2 separate regions of the Homo sapiens genome follow, and region 2 is linked to region 1. Evidence: promoter capture Hi-C in 16 types of primary human blood cells and fetal thymus (Javierre and others, 2016). All regions are on one chromosome and are shown on one strand. Each heading gives the region's core, a stretch centred on a gene start or on the middle of the fragment in contact. The rest is flanking DNA. Distances are from core to core; before and after follow the strand shown.

The links. Contacts are between HindIII fragments. The CHiCAGO score rates a contact against its expected background, and 5 or more counts as called.
Region 2: a contact is called between a fragment that was not itself captured here and the fragment with the promoter of IRAK1 in region 1, in 4 of 17 cell types (activated CD4 T cells, monocytes, M0 macrophages and 1 more). The highest score is 6.4, in activated CD4 T cells.

The regions. Positions count from the first base shown.
Region 1 is chrX:154,018,652-154,024,421 of GRCh38, reverse strand. It overlaps IRAK1 (interleukin 1 receptor associated kinase 1), which reads left to right and starts at 4,520. Exons shown (of 14, transcript NM_001569.4): 1 at 4,520-4,745; 2 at 4,824-4,991; 3 at 5,094-5,225; 4 at 5,344-5,447; 5 at 5,635-5,770. The coding sequence starts at 4,610. MIR718 (microRNA 718) reads left to right here and starts at 4,433; the gene lies at 4,433-4,502. MECP2 (methyl-CpG binding protein 2) reads left to right here. Exons shown (of 3, transcript NM_001110792.2): 3 at 1-2,849. RefSeq lists enhancers at 3,401-3,470, 3,586-4,555 and silencers at 4,241-4,620, 4,971-5,070, 5,081-5,150. The HindIII fragment of the contact is 4,941 bases long and covers 405-5,345 here.
Region 2 is chrX:153,729,719-153,735,671 of GRCh38, reverse strand. The region is part of intron 2 of ABCD1 (ATP binding cassette subfamily D member 1); the gene reads right to left. PLXNB3-AS1 (PLXNB3 antisense RNA 1) reads left to right here. Exons shown (of 3, transcript NR_199696.1): 3 at 1-820. Among named protein-coding and RNA genes, the nearest start is that of ABCD1, 7.8 kb to the right of the region's middle. RefSeq lists an enhancer at 1,668-2,360. The HindIII fragment of the contact is 1,143 bases long and covers 2,142-3,284 here.

The DNA.
Region 1 (5,770 bases), core at 3,271-5,770:
CCATGTGGAGTCAGCCTCGCAGGCCTCCCTGCCAGTAGGGTCCGAGTGTGTTTCATCCTTCCCACTCTGTCGAGCCTGGGGGCTGGAGCGGAGACGGGAGGCCTGGCCTGTCTCGGAACCTGTGAGCTGCACCAGGTAGAACGCCAGGGACCCCAGAATCATGTGCGTCAGTCCAAGGGGTCCCCTCCAGGAGTAGTGAAGACTCCAGAAATGTCCCTTTCTTCTCCCCCATCCTACGAGTAATTGCATTTGCTTTTGTAATTCTTAATGAGCAATATCTGCTAGAGAGTTTAGCTGTAACAGTTCTTTTTGATCATCTTTTTTTAATAATTAGAAACACCAAAAAAATCCAGAAACTTGTTCTTCCAAAGCAGAGAGCATTATAATCACCAGGGCCAAAAGCTTCCCTCCCTGCTGTCATTGCTTCTTCTGAGGCCTGAATCCAAAAGAAAAACAGCCATAGGCCCTTTCAGTGGCCGGGCTACCCGTGAGCCCTTCGGAGGACCAGGGCTGGGGCAGCCTCTGGGCCCACATCCGGGGCCAGCTCCGGCGTGTGTTCAGTGTTAGCAGTGGGTCATGATGCTCTTTCCCACCCAGCCTGGGATAGGGGCAGAGGAGGCGAGGAGGCCGTTGCCGCTGATGTTTGGCCGTGAACAGGTGGGTGTCTGCGTGCGTCCACGTGCGTGTTTTCTGACTGACATGAAATCGACGCCCGAGTTAGCCTCACCCGGTGACCTCTAGCCCTGCCCGGATGGAGCGGGGCCCACCCGGTTCAGTGTTTCTGGGGAGCTGGACAGTGGAGTGCAAAAGGCTTGCAGAACTTGAAGCCTGCTCCTTCCCTTGCTACCACGGCCTCCTTTCCGTTTGATTTGTCACTGCTTCAATCAATAACAGCCGCTCCAGAGTCAGTAGTCAATGAATATATGACCAAATATCACCAGGACTGTTACTCAATGTGTGCCGAGCCCTTGCCCATGCTGGGCTCCCGTGTATCTGGACACTGTAACGTGTGCTGTGTTTGCTCCCCTTCCCCTTCCTTCTTTGCCCTTTACTTGTCTTTCTGGGGTTTTTCTGTTTGGGTTTGGTTTGGTTTTTATTTCTCCTTTTGTGTTCCAAACATGAGGTTCTCTCTACTGGTCCTCTTAACTGTGGTGTTGAGGCTTATATTTGTGTAATTTTTGGTGGGTGAAAGGAATTTTGCTAAGTAAATCTCTTCTGTGTTTGAACTGAAGTCTGTATTGTAACTATGTTTAAAGTAATTGTTCCAGAGACAAATATTTCTAGACACTTTTTCTTTACAAACAAAAGCATTCGGAGGGAGGGGGATGGTGACTGAGATGAGAGGGGAGAGCTGAACAGATGACCCCTGCCCAGATCAGCCAGAAGCCACCCAAAGCAGTGGAGCCCAGGAGTCCCACTCCAAGCCAGCAAGCCGAATAGCTGATGTGTTGCCACTTTCCAAGTCACTGCAAAACCAGGTTTTGTTCCGCCCAGTGGATTCTTGTTTTGCTTCCCCTCCCCCCGAGATTATTACCACCATCCCGTGCTTTTAAGGAAAGGCAAGATTGATGTTTCCTTGAGGGGAGCCAGGAGGGGATGTGTGTGTGCAGAGCTGAAGAGCTGGGGAGAATGGGGCTGGGCCCACCCAAGCAGGAGGCTGGGACGCTCTGCTGTGGGCACAGGTCAGGCTAATGTTGGCAGATGCAGCTCTTCCTGGACAGGCCAGGTGGTGGGCATTCTCTCTCCAAGGTGTGCCCCGTGGGCATTACTGTTTAAGACACTTCCGTCACATCCCACCCCATCCTCCAGGGCTCAACACTGTGACATCTCTATTCCCCACCCTCCCCTTCCCAGGGCAATAAAATGACCATGGAGGGGGCTTGCACTCTCTTGGCTGTCACCCGATCGCCAGCAAAACTTAGATGTGAGAAAACCCCTTCCCATTCCATGGCGAAAACATCTCCTTAGAAAAGCCATTACCCTCATTAGGCATGGTTTTGGGCTCCCAAAACACCTGACAGCCCCTCCCTCCTCTGAGAGGCGGAGAGTGCTGACTGTAGTGACCATTGCATGCCGGGTGCAGCATCTGGAAGAGCTAGGCAGGGTGTCTGCCCCCTCCTGAGTTGAAGTCATGCTCCCCTGTGCCAGCCCAGAGGCCGAGAGCTATGGACAGCATTGCCAGTAACACAGGCCACCCTGTGCAGAAGGGAGCTGGCTCCAGCCTGGAAACCTGTCTGAGGTTGGGAGAGGTGCACTTGGGGCACAGGGAGAGGCCGGGACACACTTAGCTGGAGATGTCTCTAAAAGCCCTGTATCGTATTCACCTTCAGTTTTTGTGTTTTGGGACAATTACTTTAGAAAATAAGTAGGTCGTTTTAAAAACAAAAATTATTGATTGCTTTTTTGTAGTGTTCAGAAAAAAGGTTCTTTGTGTATAGCCAAATGACTGAAAGCACTGATATATTTAAAAACAAAAGGCAATTTATTAAGGAAATTTGTACCATTTCAGTAAACCTGTCTGAATGTACCTGTATACGTTTCAAAAACACCCCCCCCCCACTGAATCCCTGTAACCTATTTATTATATAAAGAGTTTGCCTTATAAATTTACATAAAAATGTCCGTTTGTGTCTTTTGTTGTAAAAATCAAGTGATTTTTTCATAAGGTTCTTTTACTATTGGAAAAGATGGGCAGCACGCAGTTTTATTTTATTTTTGTAAGTTTTTTAATACATGTGAAAGCAAAGAATACTCAGCATGCCTTTCTAAGTGACGCGTTTGCACCTTTTGTTGGGAAGTACTGTATCCTGTGCTGTTAGCATTCTCGATAAATCTCTCTGTGAAAGTGACTCAAGGTCTGGGCTTTCATTATAAGACAGAAGTCCCCCTCCAGCTCACATGACAGCATGGTGCTGCGTTTCCTCATTGGATCTGGCTGTCCCTGGACACAGGTAGCTGCCTTCAGGCCTGCCACGAGCGGCCAAGGGAAGCCTCCTCCATATGCTGGCCTCGCTGGCCCCTCAGCTTCTTCCAAGCCAGTGCTCTCCAGGCACACTGCTCCAGCGTGTGACGGGAAGGGCCTGGCATGAGTCAGCCTGCAGCACAACCTCCCTGCTCCAGACCCGTATGGTAGGGGCACCCCCTAGGTCTGGATGTGCTGTGGTGCTTTTGGACACCCCCACCCCCGCAGGCTGTGGCTCCTCCTGTGTCTCATTCTGGCCAGGACCCTCACGTGCCCTCTGTTGACTGCTAACGTGGTTCTCTGACCAGGCAAGGGCAGGCTGAGGGGTTTGCCCAAAGGGGGCCCCCTTGTTACTGGCTTCCTTGGCTCTCAGGAGCAGCCTCACCAGGTTGGTAAGGGGCTGGAGGAGACAACTGCTCAAAGGAGTCCAGCTTCACATGCACATGCTAGAAGGTACCCTCGGAAGGCCTGGCCTTCAAAGGTAGATCCCAGGGTTGAAAAGTCAACTTGTATGCATTGAGCATCTCGTATGCCAGCCCTGTTCCGTGAGCTGATGGGCCTTTGTGTGTAAGTAGGACCAAGTGCCCCCGTGGAGGTTAGCATGGGTGTGCAGTCATTTCAGATACTTGAGTTGGTACATCTCAGTAAAGTCTGTCCCGTGAGAAGCCATGGGTTTCATGGTATGGTTGGCATCTTCCTTGGGAGTGGCCACAGTGGTGGTGGCTTCAGGAAAGAGACTCCAACAGGGGCCAGCTGTGGGCCTTGGGCACTTCTCGTTTCTAGGAAAAGTCCTAAGTCTGTAGGGCTAGGGGTGGGGAACCCCTTCGCTGTCAGGATCAAGAGGGCAAGGGGAACTGTCGCTGGAGGAGACATCCAGCTGGAGAAACAAAAGAGTAAGTCTGCGTTGCTGCTTGTGGGGTCTTCCCCATCTCAGGGCGGGGACCGGGGGTGGCGGTCCAGACAAGTAATCAAGGACGATGCCCAGGAGGGGACAGGTACGGGGTGGCAGGAGCTCTGCCGGCGGGCTCAGGAAGCCTTCACCACAGCTGCCTGAGCTCACCCTTGCCAAATGAGGGCTGGGGCAGCAGCAACGCATACACTCACGGCTGTGGCGGGCAGCGTTCTCGGCATATTTCAGGACACCTAAGGAGACTGAATGGCTCAAGGCTGCTGCCGTGTGCAGGGGGCTAGACGTGGGGCGGGCAGGCAGGGCTCCTGGTAACAGCCCTGCAGGCCGCAGTGGAGAGCAGGGTTCCGGCAGGGCCGCCCAGGAGCTTTCGGAAGGCCCGGCCCCGGCCCCTTTCCGAGCAGCCCGGGCCTCCGCCCTGCCCTCTGTCCCCAACGCCGGGAGCCGCCGTTCGTCCTCCAGAGCCCCGCCCGGGCGAGCCCGGGAGGCCGATCGCCGCTCGCGGAACCCGCCGGGACCCGGGCCCTCCCCGGCGCGGGGCGCCCCCGTGTGACCCAGCGCGCGGCCGCGGCGCGCAAGATGGCGGCGGGCCCGGGCACCGCCCCTTCCGCCCCGCCGGGCGTCGCACGAGGCCGGCTCGAAGGGGAAGTGAGTCAGTGTCCGCGGACCCGGCCGGCCCAGGCCCGCGCCCGCCGCGGCCCTGAGAGGCCCCGGCAGGTCCCGGCCCGGCGGCGGCAGCCATGGCCGGGGGGCCGGGCCCGGGGGAGCCCGCAGCCCCCGGCGCCCAGCACTTCTTGTACGAGGTGCCGCCCTGGGTCATGTGCCGCTTCTACAAAGTGATGGACGCCCTGGAGCCCGCCGACTGGTGCCAGTTCGGTGGGTGGCGGCGGGCTGCCGGGGGGCGGGAGGCGCGCGGGCTCCTGGCGCCGACGCCTGACGCCCCCCGCCCCGCAGCCGCCCTGATCGTGCGCGACCAGACCGAGCTGCGGCTGTGCGAGCGCTCCGGGCAGCGCACGGCCAGCGTCCTGTGGCCCTGGATCAACCGCAACGCCCGTGTGGCCGACCTCGTGCACATCCTCACGCACCTGCAGCTGCTCCGTGCGCGGGACATCATCACAGCCTGTGAGCGCGGGACTCCGGGCACCCCACGGCTGGGAGGCCGGCGGGCCCCACGGGGCTCCCCCACCCGGGCCTCAACCTTCCTTTCCTTCCTTGGCGTCCCAGGGCACCCTCCCGCCCCGCTTCCGTCCCCAGGCACCACTGCCCCGAGGCCCAGCAGCATCCCTGCACCCGCCGAGGCCGAGGCCTGGAGCCCCCGGAAGTTGCCATCCTCAGCCTCCACCTTCCTCTCCCCAGGTAAGAGGGCCCGGTTGTTAGGCTCGGTGGACCCAAAGAAGAGCCCACCTTGACCACGGCCACGGCTGTAGACCCTGCTGCTGGTCTCTGCCTGCCTCTCACTGGTGTCTTTATGAAGCTTTTCCAGGCTCCCAGACCCATTCAGGGCCTGAGCTCGGCCTGGTCCCAAGCCCTGCTTCCCTGTGGCCTCCACCGCCATCTCCAGCCCCTTCTTCTACCAAGGTAGGTGTCCCCTGCCCCCCAGGGAAGATTCGAGACAAGGAGGAAGGAATTCAGCCTTTGATGTAGCGCAGAGCCCCAGTCAGCCAAGCTGGGTCAGCTGGGAGGCAGCTGTGGTGGGGAGAGCCTGGAGCCTTGGGCAGAAGGGAAGAGACAGGGACCCCACCTGATCCAGGCTCTCTTCCCACAGCCAGGCCCAGAGAGCTCAGTGTCCCTCCTGCAGGGAGCCCGCCCCTTTCCGTTTTGCTGGCCCCTCTGTGAGATTTCCCGGGGCACCCACAACTTCTCGGAGGAGCTCAAGATCGGGGAGGGTGGCTTTGGGTGCG
Region 2 (5,953 bases), core at 1,464-3,963, 290 kb after region 1:
CATCTGATGAGGGTGCAGTATCCAGAATATACAAAGAGCTTTTACAACTCAGCGACAGAGATAACCCGATCACACATGGGCGAAGGACGTGAACAGACATTTCTCCAAAGAAGACATACAAATGGCCACTCAACACATCAAAAGAGGCTCAGCGTCATTAGTCATCAGGGAAATGCAAATCAAAACCACCAAGAGATACTGCCTCACACCCACTAGGTGGCTAGAATACAAAGGAGATGATAACCAGTGCTAGCCACGATGAAAAGGTGGAACCCTCCAACACTGCTGGCGGGAAGGTAAAATGGGGCAGCCACTGTGGAGAACAGTCTCGCAGCTCCTCAAAAAGTGAAACGTCCAGTTACCATGTGACCTGGCAATTCTACTCCTAGCTACACACCCAGGAGAAACGAAAATATCTGCACACATAGAGACTTGTCCATGGATGTTCACAGCAGTGTTATTCACAATAGCCAAAACATGAAGAAACCCAAAATGTCCATCAAGGGATGAATGGATAAAGAAATTGTGGTCTATGCACACAATGGAATATTATTCAGCCATGAAAAGGAATGAAGGACTGATTCATCTTATGACATGGACGAATCTTGAAACCATGATGCTCAGTGAAGGAAGCTAGTCACAAAATGCCACAGAGCACATGATTCCATTTCTAGGACATGTCCAGATAGGCAAATCCACAGAGACAGGAAGCAGATGAGTGGGTGCCAGGGGCTGGAGAGAGGGAATGAGGAGTGACTGTTCATGGGTCTGGGGTTTCTTTGGGGGATAAAATAAAAATAAAACATTCTGGAGTTAGTGATGATGGCTGCACAACTCTGTGAATGAATTTAAACTGTACATGGAAAAGGAAGAATTGTATAGTATGTTAATTACGTCTCAATAACGTTGATTTTTAAATGCACCAGTAGGCATCTGGTTTTGTTTCTACGTACAGCCAGCTCCTTCCACCGGCCCTCTGTCCTGCACCACTGATGTCGCCCCTCCTGGGGCACATCTGAACTTTGTCATCCAACGCCCAGAGCTGTTTGGCTTTGAAACGCCAACTTTCTTTTTTTTTTCTTTTCTTTTTTTTGAGATGGAGTCTTGCTCTGTTGCCCAGGCTGGAGTGCAGTGGTGTGATCTTGGCTCACTGCAACCTCTGCCTCCCCAGGTTCAAGGGATTCTTGTGCCTCAGCCTCCCGAGTAGCTGGGATTACAGGCACCCGCCACCAAGCCCAGCGAATTTTTTTTGTATTTTTAGTAGAGACGAAGTCTCACCATGTTGGCCAGGCTGGTCTCAAACTCCTGAACTCAGGTGATCCACTTGCCTTGGCCTCCAAAGATGCTGGGATTGCAGGCATGGGCCACCACGCCCGGCCTAATGTCCCACTTCCTGACCGCCCCCTCTAGGCCATGGTTTTTGACCTCTGGGCCAGCAGCCGTATTGTTTGGTGTCTGCTTCTCCCAGGAGCTGCTCCTGTCTTAATTTGCTTTTCTGTCACACTCTAGGCCCCGTGGCAGCACCCCTGACCCTCATCAATGGCCTTGACTCTCAGTTTCTTGATCCTTAGATTCCCCACAGGAGCAGAGGTGGGGAGCAAGGGCGAAGGCCGCCTCTGAGGGTGCTGGGGTGTGGCTGAAGTGGTGGGAATGTCCTGTGAAGGACCCGAGGACTGTATCCAGGGGTGGGTGTGATCCTGAGGGGGAAGCCTCAGGGATCATTGGCTGGGGGCTGGGGGAAGACACGGAACGCAGTATCCGCTCAGGGCCATGCAGGGTGGAAAGGGGCCTGGCCCGGGAAACCAGGGAACTAGATTGGGCTGGCGGGGCGGGGATGTGAATCCTAAAGGTCGAAGGCCTTGGACCTTCCTTCCCACGGTGCTCTCAAGGACACAGCCCTCCTCCCCAGGTGTTCTGAGAGCTGGACAGTCGCTGTGGACAAAGGGAAGGGTCTGCAAGTCTTTGTGCCCAGGGCATCCTGGCGTAGAACCAGCTGCCTTCTGCAGGTTCTCTTGGAGCCTTGGGTGAATAAGGCCAGGGCCCCAGAGCTGGACAGAGCAAGGCCTCAGGGCTGGAGTGGGAGCCACAGGCCCTGCCCATCTCCTGAGCCCACCTGCCTTGCACACCAGCCCAGCAAAGCTTATCTAAATCTTCCAACCGGTAAGAGCCTGCCTTCCCACCCAGTGCGCTCCACCTCCTTGAAGCACCTGGAGCCCTCACTAGCCACCCGATGCAGGGGACACAGCAGGGACAAAACAGACAAAAATCCCTGACCCCATGGAGCTTGCAGTCCATGGCAGGGAGAGAGAAAAGCGCCACTGACGGGGTGTCGAGTGCTTGGGAGAGCAGTGGGGCAGGGAAGGAGACAGGAAAGGTGGCGGTGGGCAGGCCGGGCCTTGCCTAGGGGGGCTGCGCCATGGGGCAGCAGAGGAAAGAGTGCTCCTGGCACAGGCCCCAAGACAGAGCAGGCCTGGCATTTGGGGAAATAAGAAGGCCACAGGACCAGGCACAGTGGCTCACACCTATAATCCCAGCACTTTGGGAGGCCGAGGCAGGTGGATCACTTGAGGTCAGGAGTTCAAGACCAGCCTGACCAACATGGCGAAACCCCATCTCTACTAAAAACACAAAAATTAGCCAGGCATGGTGGCGTGTACCTGTAGTCCCAGCTACTTGGGAGGCTGAGGCAGGAGAATCACTTGAACCCGGGAGATGGAGGTTGCAGTGAGCCAAGATCGTGCCACTGCACTCCAGCCTGGGAGACAGAGTGAGACTCCATCTCAAAAGCTCCCCCTCCAAAAAAAAACAGACGGCCACAGGACAGAGCCTATCAAGCCAGGGGAAAGGGAATGCTTCACAGCCTTCAAAGGCTGCTGGCTCTGAGGACCACCAGAGCAGGGCCAGGAGCCCACAAAGCCTGGCACAGCAGAGGCTCAGAAAAGTCCTAAGCCTTCAGGGCAGGGAGCAGCCCGATGTGACCAATGGCAGCCATGGAGCGAAGCGGCTGCAGGTGCTGTCTCGCGGGCTGTCTCGGTGCCCGGGGCTAGGTGCGCTGACTGGGCTGGGCACCTACGCCAGCATCAAGGCTGCCCTTGATGTGCAGTCCCCGAATTAGATCCTTCCTCTTGGTGAGTCACCCAGAGGATGACACAGACAGTTGAGGGCATGGAAGCCCCGAGGTGGAAACAGGAACAGGGAGAGAATCAGACTTCTGTTTATAAATCGAAAACCCTCTTCCCACCAAACTGGGTAAACTACGACACTATTTCGAGCAGAGCCAAGCTTGACGGAAAGCAAGGGAAACTTCTGGGAGCAAAGAGAAGCAGACAGCCAGGTGATCCTTTGATAGCCCCAGAGGCAGGCAGGGCAAAGACCAGGAAGCTTTCCTTGCTTAGCCTGGGCTCTATGCCCAATGAACAAAAAGCCTCCTCTGAAAATTTGTAACAATGTGCCTGGAGTTCAAATGAATTCAAATGAAACCACCTCTCAATTCAGGAACCATCCCCTCCGCACTAACTAATGGCCTCCAACTGCTTACCCTGGAGTGCTTGGCCAAAACAGAAGGACATTTGGACTTACACCCTCCATTGAGGCCACACCAATCCCCATAGAAGTTCTGTTGCAAAACCCACAAGGAAATGATCCACCATGAGTGAAGACCAGCAGACAGAAGACAGGCGAATGATACTCCCAAGAACTGAAGCTAACCAAACCATCAGATAGAGACGGTGGGGTAAGTATGACTAACCTGATACACAGTATAAAAGGAGCAGTCAAAAAGATGAGCAAATAAGACACAGAAACAGCCTGACATTTCTACTTGAAAAAGGAAATGTCCATTTTCAAATTCCTATTTGAAATAGAATGAAATAGAACTTACAAAACAGCCACTGAAATGTGAACAAAATTCCAATTAGACATGGCCAAAGAGAAAACTGGTGAACTGGAAAATGAGCAAACAGGAAGGCCTCAGGGCATCCCCAGAATTCAGCACAGACAGTGTGAGATGGGAAACAGTAAACAGAAACCGAAAGACACAACGAAGAGAGTCAGAAGTCCAGCACTGGCTGCCAGTTCTAGAAGAACAGGAAAAAAGAATGAGAGTCAGGCAATATCTGAAAAGCTAATAGCTGAGAATCTTCCAGAATGATTGAAAAACTCAAATATTCAAAGGACATATAACAAGTCTCAAGCAGAATCAACAAAAACTGACACCTAAACATGTCATAGTGAAACTGCAGAATGCCAAAAAGAAAGAAAGTGATCAAAGTACCCAGAAAAAAAGAAACACAGGGTACTCAGGGAGGACAATTTGTTAGCAGCTACAGATTTGTCAGCAGCTACAGAAGAAGCAGGGAGACAATGAGACATTGTGAAAGGGCTGAGAGAAAAGAACAGTCCACCTAGACTCCATTGCGCAACTCAACTTTAGCTTGGGAATAAGGGTGAAATAGAAACATTTTCAACAAAAATAATCAAGAATGACAACAGCCTGGGTGTGGTGGCTCACGTCTGTAATCCCAGCACTTTGAGAGGCTAATGCGGGAGGACCGCTTGAGCCCAGGAGTTCCACACTAGCCTGGGCAACACAGCGAGAACCTGCCTCTACAAAAAACAAACAAACAAACAAAAAACTAAACAACACAAAGAATTACAATAAAATAATCAAGAATTTCCCATGACAAAACCCTTGCTGAAAGAACCTTTTTTAAAAACCAACCACAACTAGAAGCACTGATGACTGTTTGTCCTGAGCATAGTTGTGAGTTAAAAAACAAACAAACAAAAAACTAAAAACATGTCTATCTGGAGGAAGATAACAGAACATAGAAGAGAAATTGAGATGTAGGAACGAAATGGTGAGCACAGAACTCAGCAAACATGCGAGTGAGTTTCAACACGTGTGGATAAGGCGATAGCAAAGAGGAAAAACTAGGTACAAATCCAACTCTTGGCTGGGCTATGATGCCATGCCCCACGGGGCTGCTTCTGCGTTCTAAGGTCCAGGAGAAGGCGGAGCTATTGATTAACCTAACAAGTATGCGTGTTGATCTTTTATTTTTTATTTTTATTTTTATTTGAGACGAAGTCTCGTTCTTTCGCCCAGGCTGGAGTGCAGTGGCGCTATCTGGGCTCACTGCCAGCTCCGCCTCCCGGGTTCACGCCATTCTTCTGCCTCAGCGTCCCGAGTAGCTGGGACTATAGGCGCCCGCCACCGCGCCCGGCTAAATTTTTGTATTTTTAGTAGAGATGGGGTTTCACCCTGTTAGCCAGGATGGTCTCGACCTCCTGACCTCGTGATCTGCCCGCCTCACCCTCCCAAAGTGCTGGGATGCCAGGCGGGAGCCCCCGCGCCCGGCTGCGTGTTGACCTTTTAAAGGGTGACCACTAATGGACTAAAAATCAAATGCAGAAGTTGCAATCCGGCAGAGGAACAAAACAGGAATGCAGGCCGGGCGCGGCAGCTCACACCTGTAATCCCAGCACTTTGGGAGGCTGAGGCGGGAGGATCACCTGACCAGGAGTTCGAGACCAGTCTGGGCAACATGGCGAAACCCTGTCTCTACCAAAAATATTAAAATTAGCCAGGTACGGCGGCTTGTGCCTGTAGTCCCAGCGACTGGGGAGACTGAAGTGGGAGGACCACTTGAGCCTGGGAAGTTGAGGCTGCAGTGAGCCAAGGTCGCGCCACTGCACTCCAGCCTGGGCGACAGTCAGACTCCTGTTTCAAAAGCCAAAAAGAAAATAAAACAAACAAACAAAAACAACAGGAATGCAGAAACCTAAACATTTAATCTTATCACTAAAATAACAGGTAGAACAGGCTTCCCACTCCTCTAAAACACCTTAGGGTGCAAGAGCTGTTTCAGGGCGAGGAAACCAAGGCTGGAGTGATGAAGGGGCTCACTCCAGGTACTCCGCACATTCTCCCACCTCTAAGTCGCAGTTGGGT